2 separate regions of the Homo sapiens genome follow, and region 1 is linked to region 2. Evidence: promoter capture Hi-C in human tissues and cell types (Jung and others, 2019). All regions are on one chromosome and are shown on one strand. Each heading gives the region's core, a stretch centred on a gene start or on the middle of the fragment in contact. The rest is flanking DNA. Distances are from core to core; before and after follow the strand shown.

What was found. Contacts are between HindIII fragments. The study calls those that stand out against the background at their distance.
Region 1: a contact is called between a fragment that was not itself captured here and the fragment with the promoter of KBTBD11 in region 2, in 1 of the 25 tissues and cell types used here (dorsolateral prefrontal cortex).

The regions. Positions count from the first base shown.
Region 1 is chr8:408,503-413,118 of GRCh38, forward strand. FBXO25 (F-box protein 25) reads left to right here. Exons shown (of 10, transcript NM_183420.2): 2 at 4,571-4,616. The coding sequence starts at 4,578. Among named protein-coding and RNA genes, the nearest start is that of FBXO25, 3.9 kb to the left of the region's middle. The HindIII fragment of the contact is 3,294 bases long and covers 1,666-4,616 here.
Region 2 is chr8:1,971,637-1,976,544 of GRCh38, forward strand. KBTBD11 (kelch repeat and BTB domain containing 11) reads left to right here and starts at 2,041. Exons shown (of 2, transcript NM_014867.3): 1 at 2,041-2,299. KBTBD11-AS1 (KBTBD11 antisense RNA 1) reads right to left here and starts at 1,709. Exons shown (of 3, transcript NR_136275.1): 1 at 1,512-1,709; 2 at 904-1,027; 3 at 1-721. It overlaps KBTBD11-OT1 (KBTBD11 overlapping transcript 1), which reads left to right. Exons shown (of 3, transcript NR_126346.1): 2 at 289-401; 3 at 4,263-4,808. The HindIII fragment of the contact is 1,977 bases long and covers 319-2,295 here.

The DNA of each region.
Region 1 (4,616 bases), core at 2,063-4,562, 1.6 Mb before region 2:
AATGAAACTTGTAAAACAAGAATAATGTTTTCTACCTTGGAGGACAGTGTGAGGATTAAATGAGACAACATATGTAGATTGTTTAGAGTAATGCGTAGCCTATGGTAAGCTCTAATAAATGTTTGCCATTATTATTGTTAAGAAAAAATATGCTTGTTGAAGGAAAGACATTTTTTTTTGTTCTGAGTCTCTCATGCCAAGAGTTTCCACCAGCAAATGAACTTCATGAAGTCCTTTTCTACTGAAGTATCCCACCCACGTGTCCTACCACATGAAATAGAAATTAAGGGAAGATTTTAAATAGTTAATCATTGTAGGCTGTCTGAAATAAGTTGGCATAAAATGTGCTTAAAATTTGCAAATTATACAAGCTACACCCTTTGAGTGCTTGCTCTTAAAAGTTTAATAATTTTCAGGAGTAATTTCTAGTTTTTTTGTGTTTGTAAATTCCCAAAATAAAGGTAATTTTAATTAAAATAAGCGTATAAAGCTCTAGCAATTCACATTTTTTAGCTGAACAAATACATTCCCATTGAAAGCCGTGGGTCATCATCATTCTATAAAACTTTAGTAGCATTGTTTTCTGATTTGCAAACTCAGAAGCCTCAGTTTGGGAGTATTTTTGAAAACTTGAGATCCAGACCCCAGACGTTTTAAATTGCAACTTGTCTTTTTTTGTTGGTGGTGTTGTTTTTAATCTGCATCCAGAGTTTGTGCTTTAGTTCATGAGCTGTATAGATTATGCTTTAAGAAAAACTTCATTGTGATCCATAGAGCATACCATAACAAATCTGTGAAGCACACACATCTTCAGAGAAACAAATCTTTTCCTCTGTGTTGAAAATAAGCCTTTGGGCATGGACTATTTTTTTATTTCCATGGCTGCATTTCACTCCTTTCAACCCTTAAAAAATCAAACTTATCAGCTGAGAAATTCAGACCAAACTATTCATTTTTCACTGAGTTGCCAAAATGAATTATCTGTAGAGTTTAGGTAGTTGTAAAAGAATTGGTTATATTAATGGAAACAGTAGGCAGGCTCTTTATGTAAATGTTATAAAGATTGTGAAACTAGAAGATAAGTGTATTAAATGATGAGTGGGCATAGTGTCTAAATAGGTAAGTACAATATTTGTGTGTCATCAAGTTTTAAAATATTTTTTCAGCTGAGGATACCGGGATGTACATAGGACAGTCATCCAGATAAGGTTCTGTTGGCAAGATATTTGTTGCCTAGTTGTTTTTTTCTGTCTCCATGTTTTTCATTTGATCTATCCTACAAGCCCTAGAAAATTATTATTCTCAAAACAACACTGCTCACGCTGATCTGTTGCTGAAAAACGTTTAATTACTGACAGAATAAAGTCTAAACACCTTTGATATTCTTCTATGACCTGGCTTCTAGTCGCTTATGTACCAGTCCTCTGATAAACTTTCTCCATTTTATCCCATCTTTTCTGCTTATTTTTCTCAAACTGTGGCACACATTTTGCCCTTTATACTTATTCACCCACCATTCCCATGATTGATATTTTTTGCCTTGCCTCTCCATTCATTTAAGATCTAACCATGCTTCAGGGCGAAGATCGAGTCCTAGTTTCTAGTCAGAGCTTTCCCAGCTGATTTGCTTTCTGCTCAAATTAACTTTATTCTCTCTTTACCACAAGTTACAAGATTGTGGACATATCTGTATGTATGTATACATGCACACTCACATATCTACATGTAAACACACTTTATTATATTACACTTGTATGGAATTTGTGTGTGTTTTGCTATTGTTCTTTTTTAGTTCCTTAGCTAAATTGCACACTTTTGAGGGCAGGAACATCTAGCATAATAACATGTAGTTGGTGCTCAAATGTTTGTCGTTGAAGTAATCCTGTATTTGGTCTGTTAGCAATATTTTTCAGGATTATCCACTTGATTTTTTTTTTTAATATAGATTTCTGAATCCACAGTTTCAAGTTGATATTGAGAGATAATTTGATAATTATCAGAGATGTTCCTAGCAGCCATTTTCTGTTGAATGTGTTTTATGAGACTCAAGGTGCCACTTCAGTCATCTGCTACTTCATGGTCTTTGCTGCCTTTGGTGGGAATGTTCTTGAAAATCATAAAATCAGCTGTATGCTATTAGAGACAGTTTTAGATAACTTTAGGTCGACTGAACATGGGCATTGAGTTTTGCATTTTAGGATGTTCAGTAGTTGTGAAGCAGTTCTGTGAGACAAAGTTTATCAAAATTGTGCTGAAATTTAAGGAATAAAGTATTTTCTAAAGCAAGAATTTAAATTAATCATTATGTGACTGAAAAAGACATGTTCTGACTATAAGTCAGTTTAGCAAGGTTTGAGATTTTCTTCGTGTAAAGAATAATTACTTCATCATTTCCTACACCAGTCAAGAATTAAGCATTTGTGGTTGATCCAGGAATATTGTTGAAGTCTATGTAATTTCCTTCCTTTTTTTTCTGTATCTTCTAGGATTGTATAAGTGCCCATTTAATAGCTTGTTTTTTGTTAATTATACTAAATATAGTTGGGAGGTGGTGTTTGGAGATGTTCATCTCTCATTTATTCTCCATGATGTAAATATTCTACATTTTTCTCTACGATATAAATATTCTATATTATAAAATACTCAAGTCTGTTCGGGACGTGAAATTAAAGTAATACATTACAGAAACCACTTTTGCTTGAGTAATTCAGCTACCTTTCTGTAGCTAAATTCAACGTATATTTTCAACTCTTGCCATGCTTGGCATTTTTATAACATTTTCGTCTCTGTCGACCATTTCTTTCCTGAAATACATTTTTCTCCTGACTTCCTACTTCTCCCTCTACCTTTTTGGCTCTTCCTTTTCAGTTTTTCTTCTTGGCTTATATCTGCCGATCCCTTAAATGGTGATGTTTCTTAGGGTTTTTTTCTTGGCTCTCTTGATTTCCCTCTCGACATATTCTGTGATATTATTTGTGTGGTTTTGATTAGTGTCTGAATGCTCATGATTTTCCTCTTTCTCTCTAGTCTAACTCTCTTCTGAACCATGGATGTATATATTTATTCATTCAGTAAATAAATACTTATAGAGCTCCTGTTGTTTTCCTGGCATTGTTCAAGGTAATGGAATACGGACCTGAACAAGACATTGCATTTTCTTGGAGGAAAACAGATGATAAACACGCTAATCATTTCAGACAGCCCTTACAACTATGAAGGCACTAGATAATGGCTTAGACTGGTAGGGAGGGGGTTGAGGCAGCAGAAGGGCGCTGTTTGGACGGGGAGTCAGGGAGCCTTTCTGGGATGTGACATTTTGAATCAGCAGTGTGAGCATCTGAGGTGGTTTTTAGCCTCATGCACAGTCTCACTGTGTATGAGAATCACCTGTGGACCTTTAAAAACTACTTAAACTTAGCCTTCACCCCCAAATATTCATATTTAACTGAACTAAGATGGGACTAAGCACTTGAATGTTTAAAAAGCTTCCTGTGATGTTAATGCACAGCAGTAGTTGAAAACCACTGATCAAGAGGAGCAGAAATCAAGTCAGTGGGAAGAACTAGCATTTGAAGTCTCACTCTTATCAAATTGTGAGCGTCATGAAGTTAATCACGAAGTTGCATCATTTTTTAAGTCATAATTTTTATACCTGGAGTCTGGTATTTCAAACTGAACAGGCATGTCCTAAGCTGAAATTAATATCCCTTATCTCTCCTTTCCTAATAAAACCCTGCTGTTCCTTCTGTATGTCTTATCCCAGATCCAGGGGCTACAAAACAAAATCTAGATAACTTCCTTGATTTCCTCCTCACGTTTCCAGACAGTCTTCAAGTACTGTTTGACTCTGTTTCCTAAATATTTCTGCAGTCTCTGCTCTTCTGTTTATTTTGCCACTGTATACTCTCACCTTTTAAAGGTCAACATTCAGAAGCCTCCAGTCCCAACTACTTTCCTCCAGGTGACCCTCACCCCATACCTTCTCCCACTGTGATACTGAGTTCTTTGTAAACCACAAATCTGATTGAATCACTTACCTGCTTACTTCCCTTTTTTGGCCCCTCATTGCCCTCAGAATAGCATCCAACTCCTCTAACTTGATCCAGCCTTAAATGACTTCTCCATCCTTAATTCTGGCCCACTCTCTCTCATCTATTCTAAGCTTCAACCAAACTGAACTACTTAGAGTTGCTGAACATGAATACATTTCATTTTCGGTTGCTTCTAACTTCTGGCAAAGAGAGAATACTTGTTTGGAATAATATTCCCTATTCCACACTCCCTGACCCCTGCTTGTTTTTCAGGTATGAGCTAGAATGTCACCTCTGGTAAACCTTTCATGGGATACGCAGTATTAGGCCAGTAAAACCACGTTTACTTACCCCATTTGATCACTTTAGTACACAGTACTGTGTTATTGTCACTGTCACCAATGTCGAGCCAACGTTTAATTAATGAGCAGACATTTAAATGTTAAGAACTTTAATCTTTAAAATTAATAAATGTTCTAAGTGAAAAGAAACTTTTATGAATTATATATACTTTTTAACATAATTTAACTTTTTCATAGGAGAACTATGCCATTTTTGGGTCAGGACTGGAGATCTCCTGGATGG
Region 2 (4,908 bases), core at 791-3,290:
CTGTCTAGAAATTGGGTTCAGAGACCTCCCAGCCTGGAACCCAGTTTGATGGAGTCCCGCATTCAGGGGCCAGTAAACCACTGTACCCTGGACAACTCCATAAGCTTCGGTTATATTTTTAGGGCGGTTTTGCATGTTGAAATATTTGCATGCTTCGAGTCTACCATGCATGATCAGGCTGTCCCTGACCAGGGGAAAATTTACATAGTAAAATAGTATTACCCTTGAAATAGATTTAAGATAGGTCCTCCTTTTTCTTGACAGTATTACAACCCAGTTCAATTTCAGGAACTCTAGAGGTCCCTGCAGTTATGAAGAACTAATTAAAGGCATGAAATGTTCCTCTGCAAGTTTCATTGACCATATTGGGCCTACAGTCCATTTCCAAATAAATATCTAAGGTAAGAAAAATATGGGACTCCCCACAGACTACTTATCTACCAGATGGTGTGGGGTTTGGATGGATGTTTTCAGTTACTTCAGCAATTTTTTCATTAATTCAGTATTTATTGAGAACCTAATGTATGCCAAGCTTGTAAAATGCAGTGGGGGGTATGACCTATTCCCAGGTCTCTGGACTCTGGCAGAATGGTAGAGAAGATGCTGTCGGGCTTGCATGTTCAGAACACCGTGTCTTAGGTGACCTCCCGGGCCTTTGGAGGCCCAACCCCAGGGTGGCGGGATAGCCAGGTGAGGCTTTGTTTGGCCTGTTCACGTTTCTCTGGAAAAGAATGGGGGTAGTTAGGCCAGGCGCGGTGGCTCATGCCTGTAATCCCAGCACTTTGGGAGGCCAAGACAGGTGGATCACTTGAGGTCAGGAGATCGAGACCAGCCTGGCCAATGTACAGTGAAACCCTGTCTCTACTAAAAATACAAAATTTAGCTGGGTGTGGTGGTGCATGCCTGTAGTCACAGCTACTTGGGAGGCTGAGGCAGGAGAATTGCTTGAACCCAGGACGCAGAGATCGCAGTGAGCCGAGATTGCACCACTGCATTCCAGCCTGGGCGACAGAGTGAGACTCCATCTCTAAAAAAAAACAAAAGAGAAAAAGAAGTATTATTCTGCAGCCGAAAGGAAGTAGAGATGCACTAAGAAGATCACAGTAGAGTTTGGAACATTTTTGGAGTAAACTGAACAAAATAAAAACGGAGCAGCATGGGAATTATTTTAGCTTCCACCAAAAGGGTCTGTTTCTGCTATAGTTAACGGAAGTTTTCAATTTTCAAAAAATCCCAGTAGCTCGCTGAGTTTCAGCCTCCTGTAATTCAAGTACTGACAGCAGGTACTACTCTTCTTGGCAACAGAGTGAAAAAGGTTTTAAAGATGTTCCCGGGGCGTTAGCTTTGGTGCTGGAGTTGTAACGGCTCATTATGTGTATACAGCATGGAACTGGCAAAGACTGTCACAAGCAAAAAGAACACAAAAAGAGAAAGTAAAGGCTCTGGCTCTCGGTACTTATGGAAATCTCATCGTCATTAATTTGCACAAAGCCATTAAAAATAGCATTTACCAGCAGGGGTCCAGCGTTAATTAGAACCCAGCCTGGGAGCAGCTGGAACTCTCGGCGCTCCTGGCTCAGTCCTCGCCGCCCTGAACCCGTCTGCACCGCAGGGCCCGAGTGGGAGGCAGAGGCCACATTTCTGGATATGAGCAAAAGCTCCGACATTTCGTCCACTCTCGTGTTGTGAACTTTAAAAAATTCTGGAATCTGTTGAGAATTTGGCAATAAGTTTTTAACCACTAAATATGTCAACAACGCATCGCCTCTACTTTTACCAAAAAATAGGCGCACGAAACTCCGCTGTTTGCGCCCGCGGACACCTGTCCCCGCCTCCTCGCAGGAAGCGGCCCCCGCGCGTGGGCGCGGGCTCGGGCTCGGGCTCGAGTGGCGACGTGGGCCGCGGTCCTGGAGGGGGAGAAGCGCCCGGCGGGCAGGCGCGGGGCAGGGAAGCCCCGGGGAACCCACAGCCCCTCCGCAGACCCAGCCAGGGGGCGCGCGCCCGAAAACGCCCCGTGTGCACGCGCCCGCCCCCCTCCCCGCGCCCCGCGCGCGCCCCTCGCAGCCTGGAGCCGGAGCGCTGGCTCCGCGCGGCCTGGAGAGGCGGAGAGGCCTGTCCACCGCCCCCTCTGCCGCCCACGCCCCGCTGCGGGTCGGAGGAGCAGCTCCCGCTCGCAGGTGCTCGGAGAGGCCGGGCCGCGGCTCCCACAGGTGCCGGGAAGCGGCCGCGCGCATGCGCCGGAGCCCACCCGCCTGGCTGCGCGTCCCGGGCCCGGCGGCTGAAGAGGAGCCGCGGCGAGGTAGGGCGGACCCCGGGGAGGCAGCGGCGGGGCCTGGCGGGCGGAGCGGGAAGCAGCCCGAGGCGCGGGTCGGAGGGGGCGGCGGGTGGGAGGTGGTCGGCGAGAGCGGCAGTAGGCGGGAGGGGAGAAAAGGGGAGGCCGGCAGGGGAGAGGCGGGGAGGGGAGGCCGGCAGGGGAGGGAGGGGAGCGGAGCGGAGGGGAGGGGAGGGGGGACCGGGAGAGGAGGGGGCAGCGCTGCCCGCGGCGGGGTGGGCGGCGGTGGGTGGTCTCCGCTCCGCCTCCGGGAGGCCGCGTGGGGGGCGTGGGGGCCTCCTCGCGGGGTCTCCACAGGCCCTCCCCCGGGACGCGGCAACCCCGGCCGGAAGACAATGAGCCGCCCGCGCCGCGCCCGCAGTCACCGCCCCCGCCGAGGGTCCCGCCGCCCCAGCCGGCACGGAAGCAGGAGCAGAAGCCGAAGCCAAGCGCGCGGGGCCAGGGCGGGGGCTCCTCCCGGGGTTGCTCCGCTTGGCTCTCGGCGGTCGCGGGGATCGGCTGTCCGGAGCGAACGGGGGTCTCTCCTGGACTCGGGGCCCTGGGGAGGGGAGCGCGGCCCTTGGTCCTCCGCCGCTGCGCCCGGGGTGCGGGGGTGTCCTGGCTGCTGACCCCCGCGAGCCCCGAGCACCGCGACCCACCCGCCCCACCGCGCCGCGGCTCCCGAGTCCTGCCGGGCGCCCCTTGCAGCCCCCGCCCCATGTGCTGGGGAGACCCCCGGGCGGTCTGGGCGGGATTCCGCAGGGGTCCCTCCTCTCAGGCGGGGCTCATTCTGGAGCATGAAAAGAGGGTGAACCAAAGTCCCTCCACCTCTTTAGAGTCCTACAAAACCACGTTTCCCCCTCCACCCACTCCAGTGTCTATTCTAAGGAAAAGAAAAGGAACAAATCAGTGCAGCGAGCTTTATTCTACTCAGCCCACGAAAGGCGCCGCCGTCAGATTTTAAAGTTCCAGCCATCCCCTCAGGCCCTGAGTGAGAAGTTCGCCCGATTCCCCGCGGTTCCCGCCTCCATTTCCCACTAAGGAGCAGTTACTCAGGCTCCAATTAGGACCCCTTAATGGATGTCAATGGAACCCTTCAGCCTTTTATCCTGAGCTAATAGTGTGCTATTATTAGAATAATCCTCCCCATTCCTGACATCACGGAAGGGAGCGTTCCATTGCCTTCAGATTTGCTCCAGCAACAACCTCGTGTGTGCAGATTTATGGTAACTGGCATTGCAATGCTCCCATCAGGGCATAACTAAGTAAAAATTGTAATGAGGTAAAGCCTTTGAACTTTCCATGTCAGTTGCACAGGCATTGCTGGCCATAGCATTGGACAGCACATAATAAAATCAGTTAAAAGATGTTGCTTACATTATAGTGATGTGTAGCACAGCCACGTTCGGATCAATTACAGACCGCCAAGTTGACGGTGGTCCTGTAAGATTATAAAACTGTTTTCCCTGTGTCTTTTTCATGCTTAGAAATGTGTAGATACACAAACACCATTGTGTTACAATTGCCTGCGGTATTGTGCACGCTGCACAGGTGTGCAGTCTGGAGCAGGAGTCTGTGCAGTGGAGCACAGGTGTGTAGCAGGCTGCACCGCCTAGGTGTGTAGGTGCCCTGTGTGATGTTTGCACAGTGATGAAGTTATCTAACTATCATTTCTCAGAACCTGTCTGCATCTGAACCATTCGTGACTGTATTTAAGCCAGCATTGGGCTTGGGAGGAGGGGAGAAAGCTTAAATGTTGTGGCTCTGAGACTAAAGAAATTCCCAGGGAGCAGGACTCTGTGTTGACTGATGTCTGGGCCTAACTTGAACCTCAGAGCACCTTGCTCTGGGTGGATGGAAGAATCCGGAAAGGTGGTTTGGAGCTTATCGCATCATTTGTAAACTCCAATACAAACCCGCTTCAATGGGGTTTCCATATGTTCCGGTACAGGTAGCAACCTTGGCAGTGGGAGCCCAGCAGGTCCCGTCTTTGTCCCTGTGCTGATACAGAGAGACTCTCCGTGCTGTGGACGCCTCCATCTGGGCACATGTTTCAGTTGTTTTCTAAATACCAAGAGCACAGATTGCTCAGTAATAATAGCTCTCCTGCAAATCTGGAATCACTTAGGCAGCTGCAGTGCCTCTAAGCCTCCTTGCATCCAAGGCTGTGATCAAGGAGGACTGGTGTCTGAGTGGGCTTGAGAAGGGCCCGGAGAACAGCGGGTTTCCTGATCACAAATCAGCCTGTCATTCAGCATGTGTTCCCTTGGTGACTCAGGGCGATATCTGCCCTTCTCCGGAGGTCAAGGGCTCATCGTGTCAATTGTGGTCTTGAGTTTGTTTTTTTTTTCCTCTTGAAATCATTGTAATTAAGCTAAAAGTATAGTGTTGGTATCCAGCACATGTTTGCAAAGTATTTAACAATGAGCAAAAACTTTAAGAATAAATTAAAGCATCTAGTTTACTTTTTGCCAACAGCCAGGTTCCTGCTAGAAATGATTTTGAAATAAATGTTGTCTTGGAAATAGAAACCGTTGCATGTCTTATGTGCATTTTGTTTGAAGGATTAGCATGAATTTCCTTCTCTTCTGAATATT